Linked DNA regions of Homo sapiens: all the other regions are linked to region 2. The links are contacts of gene promoters, found by promoter capture Hi-C in human tissues and cell types (Jung and others, 2019). All regions are on one chromosome and are shown on one strand. Each heading gives the region's core, a stretch centred on a gene start or on the middle of the fragment in contact. The rest is flanking DNA. Distances are from core to core; before and after follow the strand shown.

The links. The method cuts DNA at HindIII sites, captures the fragments that hold promoters and counts their contacts. A contact is called where the count stands out against the background at its distance.
Region 1: a contact is called between the fragment with the promoter of SMARCC1 here and the fragment with the promoter of KIF9 in region 2, in 2 of the 25 tissues and cell types used here (dorsolateral prefrontal cortex and hippocampus).
Region 3: a fragment that was not itself captured here is called in contact with the fragment with the promoter of KIF9 in region 2 in 1 of the 25 tissues and cell types used here (dorsolateral prefrontal cortex).

Annotation. Positions count from the first base shown.
Region 1 is chr3:47,780,290-47,784,795 of GRCh38, forward strand. SMARCC1 (SWI/SNF related BAF chromatin remodeling complex subunit C1) reads right to left here and starts at 1,604. Exons shown (of 28, transcript NM_003074.4): 1 at 1,314-1,604. The coding sequence starts at 1,508. RefSeq lists silencers at 1,078-1,317, 1,498-1,717, 2,128-2,177, 2,288-2,347 and an enhancer at 1,550-1,844. The HindIII fragment of the contact is 21,057 bases long and covers 1-4,506 here.
Region 2 is chr3:47,280,448-47,284,394 of GRCh38, forward strand. It overlaps KIF9 (kinesin family member 9), which reads right to left and starts at 2,352. Exons shown (of 21, transcript NM_182902.4): 1 at 2,048-2,352. KLHL18 (kelch like family member 18) reads left to right here and starts at 2,497. Exons shown (of 10, transcript NM_025010.5): 1 at 2,497-2,647. The coding sequence starts at 2,519. RefSeq lists enhancers at 1,676-2,875, 2,091-2,480. The HindIII fragment of the contact is 9,211 bases long and covers 1-3,947 here.
Region 3 is chr3:46,965,133-46,969,687 of GRCh38, forward strand. All of the region lies in intron 1 of CCDC12 (coiled-coil domain containing 12), which reads right to left. Among named protein-coding and RNA genes, the nearest start is that of CCDC12, 9.3 kb to the right of the region's middle. RefSeq lists enhancers at 1-56, 113-162, 966-1,896, 1,897-2,826 and a silencer at 1,428-1,599. The HindIII fragment of the contact is 9,046 bases long and covers 1-4,555 here.

The DNA of each region.
Region 1 (4,506 bases), core at 354-2,853, 500 kb after region 2:
GCCTCCCGAGTAGCTGGGATTACAGGCATGTGCTGCCACACCCGACTAATTTTGTATTTTTTGGAAAGACGGGGTTTCACCATGTTGGTCAGGCTAGTCTCGAACTCCTGACCTCAGGTGATCCACCCGCCCGGCCTTCCAAGCCGCGCCCGGCCAGAAATGGTCATTTCTGAATGTACCACGTGTAATGCCAAAGGAACCCAAGATCCCTGCCCATGCCTAATAACTGCCAAACACTGACAGGCTTCACTGAGCTGCTGAGGCCAAAAAAATAGGTTCCTAAACTAGTTTATGTTTTCATTCATTCAACAAATATTTACTAAGCAGCCACTAAGGGTAAGGCAATAAGTATCAGCCACGTTCCCGGATACACTGCAGTGAACAAAGCCCTTGCTTCAGTGCTATGATTCTCAATAGGAGAAAGTACAGAACTAAAGAGGGTGATAGGAAAACTTCAGAGGCTGGGGAGCCTTTTCGGCTACCTGCTTCATTACACCCTTTAAGGGAGTCCTCCTGAATATTTACACAAAAGGGAAGTTGGAAAAAAAAAAAACATTTGTTATAAACAAAGGATTAAGTCAAAACTTTGAAAACTACTGACTCGGCGGAACTTCCGTTCCAAAGGTAGGAGAAATCAGTAAATGAATAATTTCAAAATGTGGTAAACACTACGAAGAAAATAAAGGTGACACAAGAAAAGTGCTCTAATAAAAACTGGGTTCTTGGGGAAGGCCTCCCTTTAGAACACTTTACGTACAAGCGACCATCAACTCTCACGCCACACAGAACCAGAAGCACGATGAGGTAGAACCGTCGTTAATAGTTCTCATCCATCCTAGAATTCATATTGCCTGTTATTAATTAACGAATACAATCATCCCAGTCGTTTAGCAATTCAACAACAGGTAGCAAACCCCCTCGAGACTTTGAATACGCTCTAAACAAAACTTGAAGCTGCTTTTACCACGCTTGCTCGGTCTTTAGGGATCATTGTTCACACACCTAAGGCAGCTGACAAAAGAGAGAGAGTCACACTCGCTTAGTGGCTGAGCTCGACCTGCTCTGGCACACGAGACTGAGCAGGGGCTTTCACCATGGGTGCGTAGGCTCAGAGGAGAGAGCCCCGAACCCCAGTCAGGCCCCGGGATCGCGGGCGCCCAGAGCGGGCGGCGGGGGCGTGGCGGGCCCGGCGCCTGCCTTTGTTGTCCCTCGTGGCGTGCGGGGGGGAGGGGCGGCCCGAGGCCCGCGAGGCCAGCTGCCGCCTCCGGCCCCGGTCGCGTGGTCTCCCGGCCCCCACGGGCGCGCGAACCCACCTTCTTGTAGTGCTTGCCCAGCCAGACCCGCACCGAATCCAGCTGGGACACCGTCTCCGGGCTCTCCCAAAACTTGGTGGCCGGGCCCCCATCCTTCCGTCGATAAACAGCTAGGCCTGCGGCTGCCGCCGCAATCCCCGAGCCCGTGGCGCCTACCGCTGTCCCCGGCCCGCCGCCGCCCGCCGCTGCGGCCATCGTCGCAGCCCGTCGTCCCCACAGCCTGGCCCACCCCGGCCCTCGCGGTGTTTCCCGGTCGTTCCCGCGCGCACCCCCGCGCGCGTAGCCGCCACTGCCGCTTCCCGGCCCCGCCCAGCCAACCCTCTTCCGGCGCGGACGCCCGGCCCCGCCCCATCTGGGAACTGGCACTGTATCTGACGCGAGCCAGCGCACGCGCATGCGTAGCACTCGTGCGGCCGTGCCTTGGAATAGCACGTCCTGCGGCCTCAGCCGCCTCTTCCGCCATCCTCCGTAGGCTGCATTCTGCCCTAGTGAGCGCCGGTTTTTGAGCCTTGCTCTTCCCTCGCTACCGACGTCGAATCATTATGCGGTCAACAACCGCAGGTGGGTTATGTGTCATAGCCCGCCTCCGCTGGAGGGAAAAGGCCTGGTGCGAGAAATGCCCAAGGGAAAGCCTGTCTAGGGTATCGAGTGCTGGCCGAGGGCCCTGCACCCGGACTGGGACTGCGCCGGGCCCCGCTTTCCCTCAGGCCCTCCACCCCCAGCGGCCCGGCGGCATTTGTGAACAGCCATCTGGGACTCCCACGCCTAGGCTTTTCGGCTTCACAGACCTTCCACTCCCTCAGGGGTCCAGCCACAGCGGCTCATTCCTGCCCCAGGGGCCCTTGCACTGGCTCTTTCGAGACCTCAGCAGGTCTTCCCTTCTGATTTGCACTTACGAGACGCGTTCAGATTCACTGCTTCAAAGGACTTCAGAAAGTAGTTGTCAGATCTTAACAATCTTGAACAACTGTTCACACCCATACACTTTCTGCATAGCGCTCACCACGACCCGGCGTTTCTAGTTTCTCATTTACCTTCCACATAAATTACATGAGAACCTAATCTTAACTTGTTCACAGGTGTATCCTGAACACCTGAGACAAGGAACAGATGTACAGTAAATACTTGATGAGTTAATGAATGGCCCACATAGAAGCCGAAAATTTTTAAATTATTAACAAGGTATATTGGCCGGGTGCGGAGCACTTTGGGAGGCTGAGGCGGGAGGATCAATTGAGCCCAGGAGCTCTAGACCACCACACCCATCCCCGTCTCTACAAAAAATACAAAAATCAGCCAGCGTTGTGTTGCAAGCCTGTGGTCCTAGCCTCTTGGAGGGCTGAGGTGGGAGGATCCCTTGAGCTGGGGAGATGGAGGCTGCAGTGAGCTATAATCGCGCCACTCACTACACTTCAGCTTGGGCGACAGAGCGAAACCCTGTTTCAGAAACATAAAAAGTATGACTGGCCATAATGGAGTTGTGAACATAATGCTATATGATCGCAGAGAAGCAAGTAACTAATTGCTTGTGAGAACGTGACTAACTGCTGGTAAGTTTCTGAGATCTTTTAAAAATGAGGGTGTGTACATGTTTTCAGGATCTCCTGAGGGCTGTGTCACGGACAGTAAAATATATTAAATAAAAAAGTTAATAGAATGTGATCAAGAGGGCCAGGCGAGATAGCTCACGCCTGTAATCCCAACACTTTGGGAGGCCAAGGCAGACTGATCACGAGGTCAGGAGTTCCAGACCACCCTGGCCAACATGGTGAAACCCCGTCTCTACTAAAACTACAAAAATTGGCCAGGTGTGGTGGTGCATGCCTGTAATCCCAGCTACTCGGGAGGCTGAGGCAGGAGAATTGCTTGAACCCAGGAGGAGGTGGAGATCGCAGTGAGCTGAGATCACGCCACTGCACTCCAGCCTAGGCGACAGAGCCAAACTCGTCTGAAAAAAAAAGTTTTTAATTTGAAACTTTCTCAGATTTAACAGAAAAGTTGCAAATATAATACAAAGAACTTTTCCTGAATCATCTAAGAGTAAGTTGCTGACATAATACCCATCACTATCAAAAAGTTTAATGTGTATTTTCTACAGACAAGTATAGTCTATATATTCTCTTACATAATCACAATACAATCATTTATACCAGGAAATTAACACTGATGCCATCCCCAGACCCCATTCAGGTTTTTCCTATTGCACCATGAAGTCCTTTATAGCAAAAGTTTCCAGTTCAAAATCACACTTTGCATTTAATAAAGTTTCATCTCCTTCAATATGGAACAGTTCCTTAGTCCTTAAACCTTAACAACATTGATACCTATGAAGATTACAAGGCATTTATTTTGTAGAATGACCCTCAATTTAAGTTTGTCTGATGTTTGTATCTTTGTGTTCTTTGCATTGCATTCTATCAGGTGGTGCATAATTTCATTTCTCCTGTTACATTGATGACAGAGTATCATCCAGGTTTCTCTACTGCGAAGTTATTCTTTTTGCCTTTGTAATTAATCACTATTTTCTATGGAGGTATTTTGTTTTTTTGCTTTTCGGGGGTTTTTTGAGATAAAGTCTTGCTTTGTCACCCAAGCTGGAGTGCAGTGGTGTGATCATGGTTCACTGCAACCTCCACTTCCTAGGCTCAATTGATCCCTTTGTGGAGGTATTTTGAAAGTATATTGGCCGGGCGCAGTGGCTCACACCCGTAATCCCAACACTTTGGGAGGCCAAGGCAGGCAGATCATGAGGTCAGGAGTTCGAGACCAGCCTGGCCAACCTGGTGAAACTCCATCTCTACTAAAAATACAAAAATTAGCCGGGTGTGGTGGCAGGCATCTGTAATCCCAGCTACTTGGGAGGCTAAGGCAAGACAATGGCTTGAAACCGGAAGGTGGTGGATGTTGCAGTAAGCCAAGATCTCGCCACTGCACGCCAGCCTGGGTGGACGAACGAAACTCCATCTCAAAAAAAAAAGAAACTTGTTTCTAGAGTATAGAAAGAGCTCTTACAACTCAGTAATGAAAAGACCAGTAACTCAGCTGACCAATTAATCAATAACCCAATGGAATAAACTTGATACATGCAACACTGGGGAGTCTTACCCAAGTTATATGGGTAACTATATATATATACCCAATGTATAGTGTATGATTCAATATACGTGGAGTTACAGAATAGGTTAAACTGAAG
Region 2 (3,947 bases), core at 1,102-3,601:
TGTAATCCCAGCCTTTGGGAGGCCAATGTGGGAGGATCGCTTGAGGCCAGGAATTAGGAACCAGCTTGGGTAACACAGCAAGACCTTGTCTCTACAAAAAATTTTAAAAATTTGCCAAGTGTGGTGGTGCACGCGTGTGGTCCCAATTTCCCAGGAGGCTGAGGCAGGAGGATCACTTGAGCAGTGATGGCACACCACTGCTCTCCAGCCTGGACAACAGCGTGAGACTGTCTCAACAAAACAAAACAAATAAGCAAAAGCATCACTCTCCCTCCAGAGCCTGGCCCTTCTCTGCCCTGCTATTTGCCAACATGCACATGCACACGCAGTCACCCCATGTATGCTTCCCAAGGCCCTCCCATGCTGACACCATGGCTCCAAGCAGGCCAGGAGCCATATCCACCTGCAATAAAGTCTTCCTTTGCACACCCGTCTTGTGAGCCTGCTACTCAGCAGCCCTTTAACACCCAAACATTTAGGGACCCCATGCCATCTTGCACTTACTGAAATACTGCTTGTTACCATTCTTACGTCGCTTCATTTGAGTGGGTTTCAGTTCCCAAAATTAAATTACAAGCTGCTTGAAGGCAAGGATTGTGCTTTTTATCTCTTTTGAATCCCCTCACAATGTCCAGGGCAGAGCCCAGCACAGAGTAGGTATTCAGGAAATGGCGGTGGTTGGTGATGGTAATGGCTGGAAGTCAGAGGGCAGCTGAATCTTCATATGTGGGTCTATCTTCAGTCACTACTGAGAGAGTCCCAAGGGGCATATGATGTCACTCCCCTTCCATGACAACTCCAACCAAAGCCCACAGCCCTTCCAGGAGGACACTTGGTTTCCAGGTGCAAAAATCCACATCCAGCACCTCACCACACGCTTTTTTTGTTTTTGTTTTTGTTTTTTGTTTATTTGTTTTTGTGACAGGGTCTCACTCTGTCACCTAGGCTGGAGTGCAGTGAAACAATCTCGGTTCACCGTAGCCTCCACATCCTGGGTTCAAGCGATCCTCCCACCTCAGCCCCGCAAGTAGCTAGGACTACAGGCGTGCACCACCACGCCCGGGTAATTTTTGTATTTTTCGTAGAGACAGGGTTTCGCCATGTTGCCCAGGCTGGTCTTGAACTCCTGAGCTCAAGCAATCCGCTCACCTCAGCCTCCCAAAGTGCTAGGATTACAGGCGTGAGCCACGGCGCCCGGCCCCCTCCCTTTCTCCCTCAGGACCTTGTGGGGAATGTCTCTCCTTGGGGAACCACCCTTTGATATTTCTGGTATAACAAAGCAAGTCTCTGAATGGCCACCAGGAGACTTCTGTGTTAAGGCGCTCGAGGTTTCCTCATTTGTCTTTAGTGGGAATGAACAGAATTGGCAACAAGCAGCCATGAAGACTAGACAAGAGGAAAGGGAGCGTTTGGTGGGGTGGAAGGCACCAGGTGGGTCCCTATCTTCCAGTGCTCCCGTCCAGATGAGGGGCTGTCATGGGGAACCCTCATAGCTACCCGTAGCGGCAGCACCAACACCCGAATCCAAAACACTGGGTCCAACTGCACCTGGCCTTGGCTGAACAAGACTAGGATGCAGGCAAAACTAGACTTTCTCCTTTTTCTCACCCAATGTGCCGGACCCCCGCGTGGAGCCTGGGCGGCAGTGGGCTTTGGACCCATTCCGGTCCCTCTCTGGAGAGGTTTCCTCACCTGTAACACGAAGGGCTCCGACTGGTGATCCCAAAGCCCCCTCTAGTTCGAAAACTGACTAGTACGGAAGAGTCCAGACGACCTCTGGCTCCCTGCCTCACGGCCTCTATGTCCTGGACGCGACGTGGGACCCCTTTGTGGGACCAATGAACATTAGCTCCGAAGACCGTAAGCCGCGGTCAGGTTGAAAGGACTCCCGCGACGTCGAGCCCTCCTTCGCCTGGGTTTCAGAGATGAGCGACCCAGCTGGGAACCCCCAGATAAAGCGGTTTTTGGACCCCAGCCACTTTCAGCAGTCCGGGCGCACACCCTTTTCCCGTCTCCCCACTCCCACCGGCGAGCAGCCCCTGCTCACCGTTCACCAGGCAGCGACGCTCCCGGGACGCGACTGCCGCAACCGAAACCACCTGCACTCCCCACGCGGGGCTGCCTGGCTGTGTACATAGTCGCCATGGCAACGGGTCGCTTCCGGGGATTCCGGAAGTGTCGGGGTGGCGGAAATGAAGTCCGAGGTCCTACGTCGAGGATACGGGTGAGGTCATGGCCGAATCGGGAAGACGAGAGATGGGGCCGATTGATCTAGAAAGACTTCGGCGGATGCACATGCGAAGTCAAGGTCGAGATAGCGAGGGAACGAAGGCCGCACATGAACCAGGAAGCGGAGTGGCGGGGCTTCCGGCGCCGAGGAGATTCAACTACGGCGGCCGCGGAGGCCCGTCCGATTGCTGCTCCGCGCTCCGAGCGGCTGTCGGCGTGCGCTATCGCCCCGCCCTGGTTAGTGTCTAGCCGGCCGGCGAGGCCTGCGCAGTTGCAGCGGCCGGGGAAGATGGTGGAGGACGGCGCGGAGGAGCTGGAGGATCTGGTGCACTTCTCCGTGTCTGAGTTGCCTAGTCGCGGCTACGGCGTCATGGAGGAGATCCGGCGGCAGGGCAAGCTGTGCGACGTGACCCTCAAGGTACCGCGGACTGGGCGGCAGCGGGCTGAGGGAAAAGGGGTCGAGCGGGGAGTAAAAAGGGGCGGGGGACAGAGAAAGAGAGGTCTAGCAGGGAGAGGGGTGGGGAGAAGAGGTGTGAGGGGGGCCGAGTAGTGGGGAGAGAGGTGCCGAGCAAAAGGGGATCGGGGCCGAGTGGGGAGAGGAAGAGGACAACCTTTCAGCCCTTGAAAGGAAAGGTTGAGAGGTGCGCCGCTTAGGCCCTTGGAGTGGGAGACACGGGTGACAGCCTCCTTTTTCTGTCATGCAGACAAGAGAAAATGGACTTACCTTCTATGGAGGCAGGGGCGGTGGCCGGCTCCACATGCTGATGGGCACCACTGAAGAACCTTCTCTTGTCACTACAGATATTTCTTTGTGCCTGTCGAACTTGGCTGTGCTGTTCTAGAAGAGAAGGCTTCTCCTTAGGAATCATTGCCCTTAATTGTTGAATTACTACTTTGTCTCTTAAGAGCTTTTAAAATCTTCTCTGGAAAATTTTTGAGGTGGGAAGCCACCCTGCCCCATACTGGAAGGCACCACTCACCACCACAAAGGTCCCCGGGGCTGGGCCTGCTGGCCGCGTGGGGAGAGGGATGCTGACTGATATTAAGAGGGAAAGATATCTTAACCACCTGTTCCCCACCAGCATTCTGGTCGCTAGAGCCAGCCTCCCTCCTGTGCCTGGGTCTTTTCATGAGGAAGAGGCATGCTGTGCTGCTGCCTGGCCAAGCCACCGAACCATGTGGAGACGTCCGGTTGGGGAGATGATCAGTGGGGCTCCCTGTTGGGCTTTAGCTGGAAAGCTCTCAGCATCTGTGCGTGATCCCTGTTTAAAAAACAAACAGGGCAGGCATGGTGGCTCACACCTGTAATCCCAGCACTTTGAGAGGCGAGAGGATCACTTGAGTGGGGGAATTGGAGACCAGCCTGGGCTATGTAGGGAGACCCTGTCTCTACAAATAATAAAAAATTGTCTGGGCATGGTAGCCTGTGCCCGTAGTCCCAGCTACTCAGGAGGGTGAGGTGGGAGGATCGCTTGAGCCTAGGAGGTCAAGCCTGCAGTGAGTTGTAATCACACCACTGCACTCCAGCCTGGGCAACACAGCAAGATCCTATTTCTCCTATTTCTCTCTGTCTCTCTCACACACACACACACACACAAATAAATAAATAAAAGAAAAAATAAAACTATGCAGAGATTCTTTTGCTCTTCTTTTCTTTTTTCTTTTTTTTTTTTTTTTTGAGACGGAGTCTCGTTCTGTTGCCCAGGCTGGAGTGCAGT
Region 3 (4,555 bases), core at 57-2,556, 320 kb before region 2:
CCAGGAGACAGGAGAAAAAAACTGAGGGATTCACCATCAAGACCATGCAAATTCTTTTGTTGCAAAAGCTAACAGAAAGATTAAAAACCAGCTTGAATTTCAACATTCCTTTGCTTTCCAATTCCCTGCCCCCTATCAGTGAGGCCTGGGGAACACAACTTACACCTTGTAATACCACAGAAGTCAACCAAACGGGAGACTGTGGCGGAACAACTGTGTCACTGGCACAGCAAGAAAGAGGAACCTTGTCTTGTGGCTGTCTAGTGCCTCTTCTGCTACATGGAGGGTGCTTCAGCCACCACAGGTGAGCTAAACCGTGAAGGATCCTGAATAGCCACCCATCTGCCTCGATGGAAACCGTGCCCTCTGAGGGAAATCCAGAGAGAGGCTCACCCTTCGCCCAGGCCAGGTGTTTCTCCCCAGCATATCAGACCAAACTGAACGGGGTCCCATTCTCTTCCCTGTAGCTCACTGCAGAGCCCCTCCTTGCAAAGCTCCAAGGGATGAGGGCAGCACCAATTCTATCCCAGAGGAAGAGCACCCCCAAACTTGGCCAGGAGGCGGTGGGCTCCCTGGCCCATCCCTCTGGCTCCATCTCCAGAGGACAAGGGATTGGCCCTGTGTGATTGTGTTTGGTCCCTTACTTCTCCACATCTGTGGTGTCTCAGGTACAAGTTAAAGGGGCCCTCAACCAGAGGTAAAATAAGAGTATAGGAGAAAGAATAAATGCACACATCACACTTCCCACCTCTCAGCTCCCTTCTGCACACACCATCTCACTTAACCCTTATCCTGGGAGGGAGGAGGTACTGTGGCCATCTTCCAGCTAAAAAGGATGTGAAGAGACTTACCTATCTACACATCCCAAGGTGAGCAGGGTGGCGGAGCCAGGTGGGCAAAGCAACCTGTCCAGAGAGCAGGGAATCATGAGAGAAACGGCCAGCCTGACCCAGAAGCAGTGGTCATATTGTAGGAGCTGCAGTGCAGCCCTCAGGACCTACGTGCAGGGACAGAAAGGACAGGGGAGGGGGGAGTGTACATTTACGGCAACTTGAATCTGTGCTCCCAGGTTGAAAAAAGAAAGAAAGAAAGAAAGCGGGCTGGGCACGGTGGCTCACGCCTATAATCCCAACACTTTGGGAGGCCAAAGCAGGGAGACGACTTGAGACCAGGAGTTTGAGACCAGCCTGGACAACATGGCGAAACCCCATCTCTACTAAAAATACAAAAATTAGCCGGGCGCGGTGACACACACCTATAATCCCAGCTACTCAGGTGGCTGAGGCAGGAGAACGGCTTGAGCACGGGGCGGGGCAGAGGCTGCAGTGAGCTGAGACTGCGCCACTGCACCCCAGCCTGGGCGACAGAGTGAGACTCTGTCTCAAAAAAAAAAAGAAAGAAAGAAAGAAAGAACGAAAGAAAAGGGCTAGAGTTGCTAGAGTGGCAATATGAAGACCTGAGCACTAGCAAGAAGGCTGCCAGCATCCAAACACCAGGTGAGTTCAGACAGCAAGGCTATAAGGGCACTGCCTCAGACTGGCGCTACCCTCCTGAGAGGAGGGATGGATGTCCCGGCTGGGGTCCAGTGAGGACTTCAAGCAGTGGAAAGGAGGCTTAATTTACAGGAAGGCTTTGGCCAGCATGCTGCACCTCAACCCAGCTGGCCTGGATTCCACTGGCACCACACACTTCCCTGAAACAGCTGGACCAAGCTCACCTATCACCTTGTCTTGCCAAAACCCATCCCCAGTCTTCGCCTGGCTTCTCTCAGCCCCACTGTCCTCATGCCGCCCCACCCCACCAAGTTTCCTTGGATTCTTCTAACTCCTGCTAAATACCTGCAGAGCGAGCCTCAGGGCACAGAATGATCTCCCAGTCCTCTGTCTCTGTGGTCTAAGCTCTGTCACCAGAGGGCCTCGTCTAGCCCCAGGGCTTGATATCCTGTATCTGTTTCTAGTCCAGATGCCTGCTTATGTCTCTCTTCGCTTACCTGTCTAACAGTCATCTCTGGCTTAATGTGGCCAAAGCCAGACTCTTGCCTTCCCCTTCAAAGCCCCTCTCCCCTGTACTTTGCCATCTCAGGAACCCTGTCTGTGCGCACTGCCTCACACCTGGGCTCCTGCAGCTGCCTCCTACCTCCACACACAGTCATCCAAGGGCATGTCAGCTTTGCTCAGACCTCCAGTGGTTCCCCAACCCCCTTAGCCTGAGGTCCAGCCTTGGTGGTCTGCAAGGCCCCCTTCTAACTAGCCCAGCCTCCCAGGCCCTCTCCACCCTCATCCCCCTTCCATACCTCCCACTGTTCACTCTACTCCTACTCCTCAAACATGCCAAGCTAGTCTTGCTCAGCTTGGAATGCTCTTCCCTAGATCTTGGCATCTCACTCCTCCATCCCCGTCTCAGAACTCCCAGGTGGTGGTCTTCCCAGCCTGGGCAGCTGCACAGCCTCTCCCCAACACACACACCACATTCCCAAGTTCCTGGGACACATAAACAGGGACACCATGTTCCTTGTTTCTAAGTATTCCCACTCCTTCCATAGAAGCCCCTTGAGGCAAGGAGGAAGTCTTGTTCATAGCTGTATCCCCAGGGCCTGTCATACAGCTGGTACTCAATAAATACTTATTAGTGGCTAGCTGCAGAGTTCCTGCAGTGAGCATGGGCAGCTAAGGTTCCAAGGGAAAAAAAAGTATCCTTCTTCCAATGAGAGAATGCCAGGGACTGATCAGAGATGTCCAGAAAAATTCATCAGAATCACCTGGGGAACTTTAAGAATGCATGAATTTATAGGCTATATACCAAGACCACAATAGGTCTGAGGTAGGGCCAGAAAAAAGGACTGCAAATTGTCTCTCAAGACAACCCAACGAACAGGTAGGTCTGAGAAACTCAGATAAATCCAACACCATCATTTCATACGTGAACATATTGAGGGCCTCAGAAGGAAATGCTGGCTCACCATAGGTATGTGTTGGGAACCCCAAATCTCCCACCCAGAAGATTCTCCCTCTCACTGCCTCCACAACCTTGGAGTCTGAGAGCTTGGGCAGAAAAGCTGAGTCCTTAGGAAGAACGGGCACTCACACTCCACCTCGGCTGTGACTGCAAATCCATTTTCTTCTTAATCTAACACTTTGCACTAACACTCCATCTTCAAAAAATTAGGGCTAGGATGAGTAAAGCCAGGGTGCAGGAGAAGGACCTCTTTGCTTCCACTGGAACCGGGCCAGTTCCACCCACTGTCACCCAGCGGAGAAGGCTGCAGGACCACCTGGATGTCCCCACTTACAAGAGGGTAAAGAAGAAAGGACAGGCATCCACGTTTATAAAAGGCCTGTGTGCAAGATCTCGAGCTAGACACTTCATAGACAGCATCTTTCTCTGTTCTCCTAGCTACTGATGAGTTCAGAAGCTGTATCTCGATTTTATAGACAAGAGAGAGGCTCAGATTTTTCAAGGCTTGCTCTGAGTACCATAGATGCGATTAATGGAGCAGAGGTTTAAATCAGATCTGTCTCCAAAGTCCATTCTCTCCACTCCACCACTAGGCCTCCACCTGGCAGCCTGGTTACAGTTTATATGTGTGATGGGTGGAGGCTCCTTCCCGGGAGGTACTTATTCCCAAGCACCTGGGGGTGAGAGGTGTAGAGGGATAGAAGGCCAGAGCCTAAGGGACAATCTAGGGTCAGCAACAACTCAAAGCACGACTGTGGGATGTTCCTTCAGCCCAGGGTTTCCTGGTCTATCAGACAGGGATGAAGCAATACACCCTGCTTCAAAGTCCTGCTTCAGGGATGGAACACGATTCTGCCACAACTGCCACGCAAATGTTATGACTGCCAACCTGCCAAAAGCTGTCAATACAGGCGGCAGTGATCGCCTTGGCTGACTTTGCAACCAGGCTGCTGGGCCTGGGGATGTGGCCACATGGGATGTAGATAGAGGCAACTTCTTGAGACATGATCAGGACACGGACAAGTCTGACTCCTCACCCAGCATACTAGGCCTCTCACCCACTGCCTCTGTTCCTCCAGCAAGACTTGCTAGCCCCTCCCTCTGGTTCCCTCTTTTACCCTCCCCCAACCTGGCCAGGGACCCTCCCTAGTACTCCCAAGTCAGAGAGTACTAGTGCATGCCTTCTACCTTGGCATTGCTCCCACTCTCTGCACTGTGCATTTTTTTCTTTCTGTTTGTTTTTTAATCCTCCCACCTCAGCCTCCCGAATAGCTGGGACTGCAGGAGCGGGCCACCATGCCCGGCTAATTTTGTTTACTTATATTTGTAGAGATGGTGTCTTGTTATGTTGCCCATGCTGGTCTTGAACTCCTGAGCTCAAGCGATCTGCCCACTTTGGCCTCCCAAAGTACTGGGATTACAGGCGTGAGACACCACACCTGGCCCGCACTCCCATTTCTTGAGTGTGTAAATCACAACTATACCACTCTGAATCACCAGCACTTAACTCCACAGGGTACATACACAGATGGCCCCAAATCAGCATCTGATGGAGATACCAGCCATGAATATGGCCAACTTCCAAGCCCTCTGCCCAGCT